Linked DNA regions of Homo sapiens: region 1 is linked to region 2. Evidence: promoter capture Hi-C in human tissues and cell types (Jung and others, 2019). All regions are on one chromosome and are shown on one strand. Each heading gives the region's core, a stretch centred on a gene start or on the middle of the fragment in contact. The rest is flanking DNA. Distances are from core to core; before and after follow the strand shown. Region 1 has its middle 12 kb from the start of BRINP1. Region 2 holds the start of TLR4 (toll like receptor 4).

The links. Contacts are between HindIII fragments. The study calls those that stand out against the background at their distance.
Region 1: a contact is called between a fragment that was not itself captured here and the fragment with the promoter of TLR4 in region 2, in 1 of the 25 tissues and cell types used here (mesenchymal stem cells).

Annotation. Positions count from the first base shown.
Region 1 is chr9:119,377,960-119,385,578 of GRCh38, forward strand. No RefSeq gene overlaps it. Among named protein-coding and RNA genes, the nearest start is that of BRINP1, 12 kb to the left of the region's middle. The HindIII fragment of the contact is 9,505 bases long and covers 1,318-7,619 here.
Region 2 is chr9:117,700,254-117,707,201 of GRCh38, forward strand. TLR4 (toll like receptor 4) reads left to right here and starts at 4,150. Exons shown (of 3, transcript NM_138554.5): 1 at 4,150-4,312. The coding sequence starts at 4,220. RefSeq lists enhancers at 3,572-4,771, 3,719-4,219, 4,120-4,169, 4,180-4,249, 4,220-4,720 and 1 more. The HindIII fragment of the contact is 6,617 bases long and covers 2,924-6,948 here.

The sequences.
Region 1 (7,619 bases), core at 4,820-7,319, 1.7 Mb after region 2:
TGTTTTGAGCATCTTCTCTGAACCAAATATCTAGTCTAATGGCAATGAATAGGTTACTCTCTTTTGGAGCATATAATCTCATTAGGAAGTAATATTTACACTAATAAGGTTGTGGTAATGATTAAATGAGATAAGCATTTAGCATGGAGCCTGACAGCCTCATTCAGTGGGAGCCATGCTTGGAGGGGTTATGGCACCCAAAAGGAGCTATATGATTATTAATAACAGTATTTATTGAGTACTTACATCAGGTCAGGCATTTTTCAAAATTCTTTTCTGTGTATTAACTCATATAATCACCACAAAACATCCCAAGAGGTAGATGTGATTATCATCCCCAATGAGAAAAGAACTGATAAGTATCAGACTGAGATATAAATACAGATCACTGGGCTCACAGGTCAATGCACTTTACTATGATTTCTTACTAATTCTCATTAGATGCCTTTAAAGTAAAAGGGATGACACAGGGTAGATAGTTTTTGTTTGTTTGTTTTTTGAATGTGAAAGTTTCCCAATACCCCAAATGCATATGCCACTTCCATACCGTGAATACCCCACACACAACAAATTCTAACCAAGTCACTGCTATTGATCAAGGGTTACATAAAACGACATTAGTAGTAGCGCTTTTGGTTTTCATTGTTTTTATTTGCATTTTTCATGCTTATAATGTTCCAGAAAGCTTGCAAAATGCTTCACAAATAGTATTTAGTTTAATAAATTAAACTGAACTCCAACTTGGGTAACAGAGCAAGACTGTATCAAAACAAAAACAAAACAAAACAAAAAAGCACAGGGCTAGGCACAGGGGCTCACGCCTGTAATCCTAGCACTTTGGGAGGCCGAGGCAGGCGAATCATCTGAGGTCGGGAGTTCGAGATCAGCCTGACCAACATGGAGAAACCCCATCTCTACTAATAATACGAAATTAGCTGGGCATGGTGGCGCATGCCTGTAATCCCAGCTACTAGGGAGGCTGAGACAGGAGAATGGCTTGAACCCGGGAGGTGGAGGTTGCGGTGAGCCAAAATCACTCCATTGCACTCCAGCCTGGGCAACAAGAGTGAAACTCCATCTCAAAAAAATTAAATGAATAAAAGATAAAAAGCACAGAAGCAGAATGCTTGTGGCTTCACCAAAAAAAAAAAAAAAAAAAAAAAAAGAAGCAACCCTGTAGTCTGTGTTCTTAATTGTTGTGCTCTTCTGTGCTCAGCTAGTTTGCACTTTCTCAAACTATCCTATGTAACACAGAGACTGCAGTCTCTTCTACTTGAGTGCTAAGTGACACTACACTGGCATATAAACACATTTTCTTTACAGGTTCATTTTCAGGTTCACTATTTTGAGGAGGTATGGTTGGGATGTTATTTTATAACAAATATATTTTTTATCATTGTTTTAATTTACTTCTATTATAATTAGCTTGAATTTAGCTGGTTAGTCTTTGTTTCAAACTATCACATATTCGTCAGTTTTCAATATCTCTTGATTTCTCCTTAGTACTACCTCTTGTCCACCTCTTGCCTGGGCCATTACTAATCCATCATGGAACTCTCCCTTGCAAAATCCAAAACAAAATCCTCAAGCAAAACTACCAATCAATTGGATAAGGCAAAGGAGATGAAACCTAAGTTTCAGTCCCACATGTTCTCTACCTGAGATGGTTGAAGGCCTTTTGTAGATTTTAGAGATAAAAGCATGTCTGTCCAATGGCAAGATGAAATAGAAAGAATTATCTAAATTCGGAATTAAGAATATCTTTACCTTTCTATGTTGAAGGTCAAGTGCTGCATATCCTGTATCATTATCTGTGTTTTATTACAGACGTCAGCAAAGAAAATTATGTACAGAGCCTGAGTCCCTGCTGCTGCTTGTGTGAAATACATTTATGCAATTCAGACATTGTAGACATCAAATCCTCTTTTGTTAATATGTGGTCACTGAAAGCTTTACTAGGGAGAGGTATACCAAGGATGTGTGTTTGATTTAACAATGAGAGGGTAAACAAAGCCATGGTTAATGAATTTAATCATTGTTCTTCTGTGCTAGGACATTTGTTTGTATTAGATCTTGCTGATAATGACACTATTAAATAATCAGACCAGCCAGGCGCAGTGGCTCACACCTGTAATTCCAGCACTTTGGGAGGCCAAGGTGGGCAAATCACGAGGTCAGGAGTTCAAGACCAGCCTGACCAATATGGTGAAACCCTGTCTTTAATAAAAATACAAAAATTGGCTGGGCGTGGTGGTGCACACCTGTAGCCCCAGCTACTTGGGAGGCTGAGGCAGGAGAATCGCTTGAAACTGGGAGGCGGAGGTTGCAGTGAGCCGAGATCACGCCACTGCACTCCAACCTGGGCAACAGAGTGAGACTCTGTCTAAAAAAAAATCAAGCTATAAACAAAAAATAATCAGACCGTGATACAACCAAGCTGCATACTTTTCCATGCTAATAATCTTGCAGGATCACTACACACCCCAGGGGGCTACAGCAACTTCAGACAGATTTTGAGAGGGAGTAATCAAACTTGCTATATCAATTAGCACTCTCTTGCCTGTAAATGACAGAAAATTCATATGAAACTGAATGAAGCAAAAAAAGAAAAAAAAAGCATTTCTTGGTTGATGTAACTGAAAAGTCAAAAGGTAAAACATTCTTCAGGTTTGTCTCCATGTCACAAGGACACATCCTGCCTCTCTCGGCTCTTTCTTTCTCTGGGTTGGCTTGGTCCTCAGGCTGACTTTCTCCATGCACAGCTCAAATGCCAATCTTAACTGTTCCCAACAGTCCCAAACAAAATCTCAAGATTGTATCCTACTGGCTGCGATAATGTTGTGTTCCCATCACTGATTGCCCATCATGTTCCTCTCACACTTCGAATCCAGGGAATATCTCAACATTATCTCAACCAGAATAACTAAGAAAAAAAATGACTCTTCTGAAAGAAGTGGGGTACTATTACCAGAAATATGGAAAAGAGATAAGTGCTATACATGTCTATGTAAATGTCACACAACAAATGTCCACATTGCCAGCCTCTTTGACCCTAATCAAATCTTTCCATTAGTTGCTCCTAGGCAAAGATATAAACAAATAATTTGAAATTTTAAATATTCTCTTTTGAATGTTCACCTTAAAAATATCAGGTGAAGCTTGGGACAGTCACCTTCACCCTAGTTGGGTGACCCTCAGCAACATCTTAAACCAGTATCTTCATCTTCAACATGGAGATAATATTTTTCTTACATCTTTTTCAAGGTTGTTTCAGAATCCCAGAACACTTTATCAGAAAGATTCTTAAATACTGCTGAACCTTACACATTTTACAATTCAATGGTCACAGTTAATCTTGAAATGTTCTAATGATGTTATTAAACATTACCAAAGATAGTGCAAAATTGATTCTATTTTTTTAACTTTACATGTCTCAACTCAAAAGCATCACAAATAACAGGAGAAAGTGAATGTGATTAGGAAGGGAATGCTTAAAATGTTTTTTAACTACCTCTTTTCCTTGGATCAAGTAAACTACAGAGCATATTTCAGATATCTATCTTTGAAAATACCAATAAAACACTTAGCAGTAATCTGTATATGCCATTTTCCCACTCCTCGATCTAGAGATCAATTGGTTTTGTTAATGTATACAAGTGGCTATTTTTAATCAATACATCATGGATTCTATGAAATCAGTGTGTAAAAGAAAATAATCCAAAAATCCAATCCAAAGGCTTGTGTGTTCTCTTCATGGCTTTTTCCCCTATTCAACAGTGTGACTCCATGATGGTTAGTTTTATGCATCAATTTGACTGGGCTATGGGGTGTCCAGATATTTGCTCAAATATTACTCTGAGTATTTCTATAAGAGTATTTTTGACAAGATTACACTAAAATCATTAGACTGAATAAAATAGATTGTTGTCCCTAATATGGATACCCTCACCCAATCAGTTGAATGCCAAAACAGAACTAAAAGGCTGACCCTTTCTCCCTGTGTTTTCTTAGTAGGAAAGAATTCTTCCTGCCTGACTGCTTTACAACTGAAACACTGGCTTCTTCCTGCCTTCAGACTTGAACTGTAACATTAGCTTTCCTAGTTCTCAGCCTTTAGACTCAGACTGAAGCTACATCTTCAGCCCAGTTTGTCAAATTATTCCCCAGAATCTTGGGACTTCTTAACTTCCATAATCACATGAGCCAATTCTTTATAATATCTATCTATCCATCTATCTATCAATAATATCTCTAGCCATCCTGTTAGCTCTGTTTCTCTGGAGAACTCTCATACAGACCTAAGAAAGCTATTTAATCTCTGTAGGCCTCTGTTTTGAGAAAATTTAGTGAAAGCATCTTGAAAGTACCTTTCATCTCTGACGACTGGTGTGTCCATGAGCTCTAGTGTGTACTCAGGACCTAATTGCAGCATAGCTACCTGCTCTATTACACCCACGAGGTATAGATTCAAGACCCAATCCAGCACCCACTCTGCTGCTCAAGTCTCAGCTAAAGCAACAAAATCTCAGCTGAAGTGTTGATCTATCTGATGCACTGCACCTAAGAAGCACAATGATCCACTTTCTGTCCTGCCAGATTATCTCCCACCTTCTAAAAGCTGATGGGTAAAAGCAATCACAAAGCTCCTAAGAGTCTATAGAGATATTTGGGGTTGGTACATGAAATTAGCTATGTCATAACAAAACATTACAAAATAGTTCAGTGTGGTTAGAAGACCTTCATATTTATGAAATCTATAACTAACAGCATAATCTTTGAAGCCAGATGAACTTGGATTTAAATCCCTCCTCTGCCATTAATTCAATTAATCTAGGCTATTTCACTTCTCCAAGTTGCATATGTAAAATCGGCCTCATATGTAAAACTGGCCCATAATACTTAGCTTAGAGAACTAACTGAGTAAGGATTAAAAATATTATAGCTTGGCATAGCATCTGACACACTTAATTCTTCATCCAGTGTATGACCAAAGCAGATCGTGTATTATCTCATTGTCAAGGAGATTAAGGTGCAGAAAGTGCCCTAGACCTCATGGTTTATATATGGTAGATTTAGGGTTAAAACCTAGAACCTAAGGCATTATCTAGCATGGGGTATGGATTCAGTCAATGTCTACTGAGTGAAGGAATGAAAAAAAATCAACACACCTAAGCTCACAAACACTTAATATAATTTTCTTTATCTCTTTCTTTCTATAGGCAGAGATATTAGAAAATTCTAACATATAGTGAGCAACCAGAATATACTTTCTGCTTGCTGCATTAACCTGTATTATGACAACTACTCAAACAATGGAAAACACTTCCCTATTATATACAATGTTTAATTTTTATCACACACTATACCGGCTGATTTTTATCATATGCTATATAAAGTAGGTCAAGGTAGCACTTTAAAAAAAAAGTTCATTCTGCAAACAACACTAACAACAAAACTGGTAGCAGAAATGCACCTAGGAGCTAGAAAAAGGCCCAACAAGTGCTCTCTTTCTGGCTGTTTTCCTAAGTCCTATAAGTTACCCAGGGTAGGACAACATAGATGCCACTTGCTCTTCAAAGCCAAGGGGTTTCATGAGCAAGGGATCCTTCATTTCTCATTGATATTCCATAGACAAGACTTGCTGCAAAGTCCCATGATCAATGAGCTAAGATCAGACCTGGTTCCTAGCTCCTCTTACTGTTCTCACAAAACGCAGCTTGTGAGCTGGGAAAAGATAGAGAGATGTTTTTTTCAACCCATTTTCAAGTGCTAGCAGCATGCATTATTCCCAAGTCAGAATAGTTATGCCTGTTCATTGCTACCTTAAACCTGGTTGAATATGCTCCTGGAGAGCTGTGTTGATATTCTGCTGCTCTCTAGGTCTCCTGTGGAATGCAAACTGCATTTCTCTTCTGCAAACAAATACCCCTCAAGTTGTGAGCCTATTTAACTGTGCCCAAAATTCATTGCACAAACATCTGTCTCCTGGGAAGGTGCCGTCTGCCTTAGATAAGACCAGTGGGTCTCAACTGCCTAATAAATGGTCTTAGGTCTAGACCTCTCACACAGGCCTCTACCAAAATGTAGGGGAAACTAAACCTCTCCTGGGGCTTCTGTGCTTTTAGAAATACAAGAAAACCTTTCCACATAATCGCCTTAAAATTTTAGGATTAACAGATTCAGTTGGGACTGTCTGGTTCTAGGAGATCTTTGGTCTAGTCTAAAGATTTGGAATAAATGTTATTTTATTAGCAAGTGAGGGATCTCTGTTTTATTTTTGTTTTTGATTTTTGTTGTGGTTGACATTATTTTTTAACAATCTTCACCATTCTCATTCAATTTAAACTGAATAAACCTCCATGCTTTAGTGAGCTTGCCAAATTTAGGATATGGTAGACTGAGCAAGGGTCCTATACACTTGGGCACATCTGCATTCATGCTGCACAAACTGAATCCCTTGGAATCCAATGGCATTCTAACTCTTAAACATTGCTGATGGAAAAAGAAGGGCACTAGGGTTTTAATCTGGTCTGACCCACTCTCTTCTCAGCTTTATTTATCTGAACAACAGGAGATGCCTTTGGAAGTATTTGTGGGGCACTGAATCAGGAATTAGAGCTAAAATGATCTTTAAAGGTCAGGTTCTAAAATCTGCTCCATCCCAATTTCAATCTGATGCTTGAATCTCAAATATCAGAAATAAAATGGTTAAACTGATTAAAATTCTAAAACTGAGCTGGTATTACAGAGTATTCCCCAGGCCACTGACATGGTTTTTGCCAGCCAAGAGTAACCTTAGGAAAGTAACCCATCCACAGAAATGGAGAAAGCTGTCTCCTCTTGGACCAGCTCTTAGAAGTGGCAGCACCTAGCCCCACGTGGCTGTTGAACAACTGAAATGTGGTAAGTCTGAATTAAGATATGCTGTATGTGTGAAACACACAACTGGTATTGAAGACAGAGTGTGGAAAGGAATGTTAAATGTCTATAATAATTTTTATATCGGTGATATGTTGTAGTGATGTATTTTTGATATATGGGATTTAATAAAATGTGATTATAATTAATTTCATCTATTTCATTTTGCTTTTTGTAATGTGGCTAGGACAAGCTCTTCGAACAGATTTGGGAAGAAGAACGGTCACATAGATAAAAGTCGTTGAGAGTGGAAGGGAAGGGTCACTTAGTCTTGACCCTAGAGAATGAGTAGAAGGTAAATAATAAACACTCTCATGTTTACTCTCACATTAATACCCAGAACGACTCTATGTGGCATCAAAAATTGCATTCCCATTTGAAATGTCATCTCACTGAGGCCAGTAACGTAGAGGTGGTGTGCTATAAATCTAGCCACAGGAGAAGGTAAAATGGGGAGCGTAAACACAGTTCTTTCCACTGTCAAATCTATGTTCTTTCTCCAATACCAAACTGCACCTCTCTAAAATGTATTTACTTTACTATAGCCAGTGGGCTGAAGATTTTCAGTTCTGATTCTTCATCTTCTCTTCTTATCTCCTTTGACCCATCACTCTCAGGACTGCAAACAGGATTTAGTATTGTTATTTTATTTGCAACAACCATTTCTGGTCCCTGCACTCTGCTTGATGCAGTACAAAAAT
Region 2 (6,948 bases), core at 2,900-5,399:
TAATCCAATCAGAAATATCCTCATTGAGTGTTTCATGAGCCAGGAAAACTTTTATTAAGTCACAATAAAATCTGGAAGTTTATACAGCAATTAGCTTAGTCTAACACTTGTCAGTTTTGTGCATATTTCTTACAGCATATGCATTACCTGCCAAATAAAAGCAAACACTTCTAGGTCCCTGGCAAATATGGGATTCCTCCATTGACTGACTGATTATGGGTCCTGAGTTGAACTTGCTCTGCATGAAGGATGTAGGCGATCAAGTGGCTTGTTTTGCCTCTGGCCAAATCTCTACCACTATGCTTAAGATGCGATTAATTATGTACAACAAACCCCCATGACACACGTTTACCTATGTAACAAACCTGCTCATCCTGCACATGTACTTCTGAATGTAAAAATAAAAGTAAAAAAAAAGAAAACAAGAGGTGGTTATTATTCTACTGTGGGAGAAATTATAGGCCTAATGGTAACTAATCACCACGGTCTTACCTCATTATAATACTGCATCGGTAAGTTCATCAACATAAGCAAGTTAGATCTGATAACCAAGGGGCTTACAGTTTCTAATTTGTATTTGACACATGGTCTGCCTTCTGGAAGAGCAACATAGAACCTAGATGTCTTTGATTAAGGTCAGTAAATGATTGAGTGTTAATCCCATTCATTTCCCAGGAAAAGGAAACCTCTTTACAAGTCACCACCAGGGATTCTCCAATCACACATAGGAAAAATTTCCAGGAAGACTTCTATAAAACACATGTATTAACATCTCCGAAAACATAGTTGAAAGGACTTCCCTGGGCCCTTTTCCTTAGTTCCTCATCTAGACTATCAAGCGGTTTCCTCTCCAAATGATGGGAAGAAAGTGCATTTGTCTATTACACACTTGTATTACTCTATTCACTTAAGCACTGTGTCCCAGTAATGGGGTCTAGTTATGTCTGGCTTGAAATGACCCACATATTTGTTTCTCATTCTTAGGAAGTGGAGTGTTTCTGTATGTGTATATGTGATGGGGGTAGGCCAGGAGATTTTTTATCTAGGCAATACCCAGCCTGAAATCATTATTAGCATGACATGAGTTAAACGTATTTCTATTTTAGAAAGATGTTTTCAACAGCAGGATGAAGAATCAATTGGAAGAGCTGGTACATTGAAAGAGGTGAATCTAGACTTTGGGAGGCTTCTTAAAGTATATTGAACTAGTCTAGGCCGTGGGATATGTTCAATAGTAATGGTAGTAGAAATGGCGACTGACATTTTGGAATTATTTTACAGATACAATTTCTACAACTTGGTGGAACATTTTTTAAAATGTAGGTTTTATTATTCGGCTATGGTGAAAACAACAGATCAGAAGATGATGCCACTGGAAATATAGTTTGTTGTTTACAGTTCCTAAGAAGCGGGGGCATGCCACACCATGCAGGGCCACATTGGTAGCACCAGAGTCCGTCAGGAGGCAGAGGGAGCAAGAGGAAATTATAGGCACAAGCTTTTATTGTTGTTACTGCAGAAAAGGCAAGGCAAGGCAGGGTAAGCAGGGATAGGACTGGCTAGTTTGAATAACCTCAGTGGGCTCTGGGGTAGAGGGTCTGTCTCTAGTTGTCTGGTACCTGGACCTGTGATGATTAGGGCTGAATAACGGTGTCTACTTGGGTGTAAAAGCCAGGTAGAGGAGGTGGTTCAGAGGAAGGGCTCTGGATTGCTTAGTGTGCATAAGGCATGCTCCAGAGCAAATCTTTTGCTATTTTTTAGAACTAACTAGCCCTGGTAAGTGCAGTCTCTTCCCAGATGCCAGAACATCAAGAACACAGAAAAGAAGACAATTGGGTTAATACATGTTTAGCATGAGAAATGAGGAAGTAAGGGAAATAAAGTCAAAGAGATTTCCACCTTGGATGACTATGTCAAAGTGAAACACCATTAACTTTCCAGGGAACTAAACTTTATTGAGCACCTACTCTGTGTCAGGCACTGCTCTAAAATCTTTACATGAATAATCTCAATACTCAGAGCAAAGCTTTGACATGGAGGTTGTTTTTATCTTAACTCTACTGGTGTGTTGATGGAGTCTACAAGAGTTTGTGCCCAGTCCACCACAAAATGGTCCCTCACAGCTTGGTTTTTGACACGTTGGATTGGAAGTGCTTGGAGGATATTACAGTAGAACTATCTAGGACTTAGCATGCATAATATTCCTGTTTTAAATCAGGTTCTTATTTAACAGAAACTTACATTGCACTTGCTACTTTCCAGACACTGTCCTAAAAGCTTTACAAATGCCAGTTCATTTAATCCCAATACAATACTTTGAGATACATATTATCATCTTCATTCTATCCACATTTTCAATCCTCATCATAGCTCTCATTTATGGAATGTAATGATGATGCTCTAGACTAGACGTTTTACGTAAGTTAGCTTAATTCAGTAATTCAAAACACATGCGATTATCTTCGTTTTAAAGACCAGAAAACTAAAGGTTGGTAGGTTTGTATAATTTGACTACCATTGCGTATCTTTATTTTAATACATTTTATAAATGCAAGCTTCTGCTATGATTAAAAGTGATTACCACATTTTACAGACCAGAAAGTAATAATAAGTGTTGGTGAAGATGTGAAAAAATGAGAACTCCTGTACACCATTTGTGGGAATGTAAAATGGTACAGATGCTGTGGAGAATCATATGGTGGGTGCTCAAAAAATTAAAAATAGATTTACCACATGATCCAGCAATCTCACTTCTGAGTACGTATCCAAAAGAATTGAAAACAGAGACTTTAAGAGATATTTGTACAACCATGTTTATGGCAGCATTATTCACAATAGCTAACGTGTGGCAACAATGCAAGTGTCCATGAACAGACAAATGGATAAGCAAAATGTGGTCTATACATACAATGGAATATTGTTCAGCTTTAAAAAGGAAGGAGGCTTTGATCTATACTACACAGAAAAGAACCTTGAGGACATTATGCAAAGTGAAATAAGCCAGTGACAAAAAGATACATACTGTATGATTCCACTTCTAAGAGCTGCCTAGAGTAGTCAAGATTATAGAGACAAAAGTAGTGCATAGATTCAAGGGCCTAGGGAAAGGGGAAATGGGGAGTTATTTATTAATGAATAGTGGTGATGATTGTACAAAAATATGAACATAATTAATGCCACTAAATTGTACACATACAAATGGTCAAGATAATAAATTTTATGTTATGTCATGTTATGTTATGTGATTTTACCATAATACAGAAAATGAAAAAAGAAAAGAAAGAAAGTAAAGCTTAGCGGTTTACATGACTTGACCAATGCCTCAAAGCCATGAGTCACCCAGCTGAGATCTGAACTTCAGTATATTCCATTCTGAAATCCCAGACTTTTCCCAATCTTCTTGTACTTTTCAAACTGTGTTTCAGTTGAGGTTTATTTTCAGTTTTGTATGTGAGTTTCTTCACAAGAAGGGGCGGGCCAAATTGTGTCCTGCAAAAACCTACATATCGAAGTCCTAACCCCTCTACCTCAGACTATGACTGTATATGGAGAGAGAGCCTTGAAAGAGGTATGTAAGGTAGAATGAGGTCATTATGGTGGGCCCTAATCCAACATAACTGGTGTCCTTATAAGAAGGGGAGATTAGAATTCAGACACACTTGCTGACACCTTGAGTTCAGACTGGAAGCCTCTAGAATTGTGAGAAAATGAATGTCTGTTGTTTAAGCCACCCAGTCTGTGGTATTTCCTTATGGCAGCCCCAGCAAACTAATACAAATAGTGTTTCCACAGCTGAAACAAAATTGGAAAATCACCGTCATCCTAGAGAGTTACAAGGGCTATTTTAATAGAACCTGATTGTTTTCCTAAATTCACCAAGCCCAGGCAGAGGTCAGATGACTAATTGGGATAAAAGCCAACTAGCTTCCTCTTGCTGTTTCTTTAGCCACTGGTCTGCAGGCGTTTTCTTCTTCTAACTTCCTCTCCTGTGACAAAAGAGATAACTATTAGAGAAACAAAAGTCCAGAATGCTAAGGTTGCCGCTTTCACTTCCTCTCACCCTTTAGCCCAGAACTGCTTTGAATACACCAATTGCTGTGGGGCGGCTCGAGGAAGAGAAGACACCAGTGCCTCAGAAACTGCTCGGTCAGACGGTGATAGCGAGCCACGCATTCACAGGGCCACTGCTGCTCACAGAAGCAGTGAGGATGATGCCAGGATGATGTCTGCCTCGCGCCTGGCTGGGACTCTGATCCCAGCCATGGCCTTCCTCTCCTGCGTGAGACCAGAAAGCTGGGAGCCCTGCGTGGAGGTATGTGGCTGGAGTCAGCTCCTCTGAACTTTCCCTCACTTCTGCCCAGAACTTCTCACTGTGTGCCCTGGTTTGTTTATTTTTGCAAAAAAAAAAAAGAGTTAAATTACCTTAAAGACTCAAGAAGCCACAGAGATCAAATAATTCATTGTTACAGGGCACTAGAGGCAGCCATTGGGGGTTTGTTCCATTTGGAAATTTTGAGTGCTAACAGGGGCATGAGATAACATAGATCTGCTTAAGGTCCCTGCTCTGCTACCTTGTGGCTCTGTGAAGAAATTATCAAACCTGTCTGAGACTAGTTTTCGCATCTGTAAGAGAATTATAATACCTTCTTCACTAGAGAGTAAGCAGACTGCTTCAGTGTCATTTCTTCCCACTGGTGGTCTTTACACTCAGCTTCAAGCAGTCACCCTGCTCCTTTCAATCTCAGGAAAAAGATGGCTTTTGTGTGTGTGTCTCTAGAGAAAGAACTTTCTAAGTGGGTGTCAGACTTCTGTATGCAGTAATATAGTTTAGTCCAGAGGATGAAAAAAATAAGAGAATGAAAAAGGAAAAGAGAGAGAGAGAGAAGAAAAAAGCAAGAGGGAAATATGTATAATGTCAGCTAATGCAACAGTTTCTTTCTTAGTGAAATACCAATCAGCTGGTTGGTAATCTTATTCATGATGGATCTCTTTTGTTTTTCCCCTGCGCAGACTTCACAGTTGCTTTAGAAACCCATAGTAGAGCCGAACAGCTAAGAAAATGATTTACAGTGAGGCAGGGTCAGAAACTCAAGAGAGAAAAAGCCAGCTGCAGTCCTGAAGTTGAGGATATAGGAGAAAATCAAGTAATATTTAGCAAAGACTAATTCATTATCTTGAAGCCATCCCTTCCCTCAATTCCCTGCCCATAGTCCTCCTCCTTGTCCTCTTCTCTGTATCCCTCTGCTGTTAGGTTAATGGAGATAGATTTTCTAATTAGGCTCACTGCGAGATAAAACCACAGCCAAACTTGACTTCTTTTCCCCATGTACCTTTTCCTGTCAGTCCCTGAAGCCTGTCCATCCCTGCCCATCCCCTTAGTTCCACTGTAAGGCAGGCCCTCATTTCCCCTGGCATTGACTCTTACACACTAACTGCTTTCCTGATTCCAGTCTTCTTCCTTTAATTCATTCTGCACGTTCTTGTTTGTTATGTACTTGCATTTGTTGTTATTATTTTTCCTTAGGCTTCAATCTAACAAATTACTCTCCTTAAAAACTTTTAATAACTCTCCATTGCCATTAGAACAGCTTTCTACCACAGGGCCTTTGCACTGGCTATTTCTTCTACCTAGAATGCTAGATCAGTGCTATCCATTGGCAATATTATGTGAGCCACATATGTACTTTTAAAGTTTTTAGTAGCCTCATTAAAAAAAGAAACAAGTGAATTTAATTTCGATAATAGTTTTATTTAACTTAGCGTATTTAAAATAATGTTTAAAATTTTAATATATATTTACCTATTATTGATATTTTTACATTCCTTGTTTGGTACTAAGTCTGGAATTTAGTATATGTTTTACATTTACCACACTTCTCAATTTACACTATTCACATTTCTTGTGTTTGATAACTGTGTATGGCTAGTGACTACCGTATTGGTCAGTGCAGCCCAAGTCCTTTTCATGCTTTAATCACTCCATTCAGATCTCTGATTAAATGTCCCCTCCTCAGGGCAGTCTTCCTTGATTGCCCCATGTAGAGCTCTCCAGCCTCACTTATTTGCCTCAAATCCCCTTATACTGCTTAATATTTTTTTTTCTAGAGCACAACATTTTATATTTTTGTTTGTTTATTTTCTCTCTCTCCCTTTGTAATGGAATCGGTAAGGAGGCAGGATCATTGCTGGTTTTATTTACCACTATATTTCCAGTGGCCAGCACACAGTAGCCGCTAGATGTGTAAGTGATAAATGATTGAAATAATTGCTGCAGGACAAAGTCTGAGGCCCTCCTGATCTGGCTTGCCCTCTTACTTAGATTTCACCACTCCCACCACTCACCAGCTAATCTGAGTTTGTTTTCCACTCTTTACGTGCTCACGTTGTCCTCTCCTTAGGACATGTTTTTCTTCCCCTTTCCACATATCTAAACCTTACTCATCTTCCAAGACCCACTTTAAAATCTTCCTTTTCTGGGAAGCCTTTCCTGAATCCAGACTTGATCTCTGCTTTCTCTGAACCACAGGGCATATTTTCTAAGCCTATTTTATGGCCCCTTGAGATAGTGTTAGCTTTGCTCCTATCTAAACTCTTACTCTAGACTGTGAGTCCATTGAAGTCTGGAGCTGCATCATATTTTTCTTTGTAATGCCCACAGCACTTGGCAGGAAATGCCTACAATTTGGACTTAAGTAAACCTTCATTTAATCAGTTATTCAATCAGTTAGTGATTCAGCAAATATTTATTGAGCACCAACCATTTGCCAGACACCATTCTGAGTGCTGGAGACAAAGCAGTGGGCAAACCCATCAAACTTGCAATGGAATACAGGAGATGAACAATACGATGAGAACAATCAGATAGACAACATAATGTTAGATGGTTGTGCTTCCCGTGAAAGGGAATAAAAGAGGGCAAAGAAAGAGTGCCTGGCACTGTTTCTATTA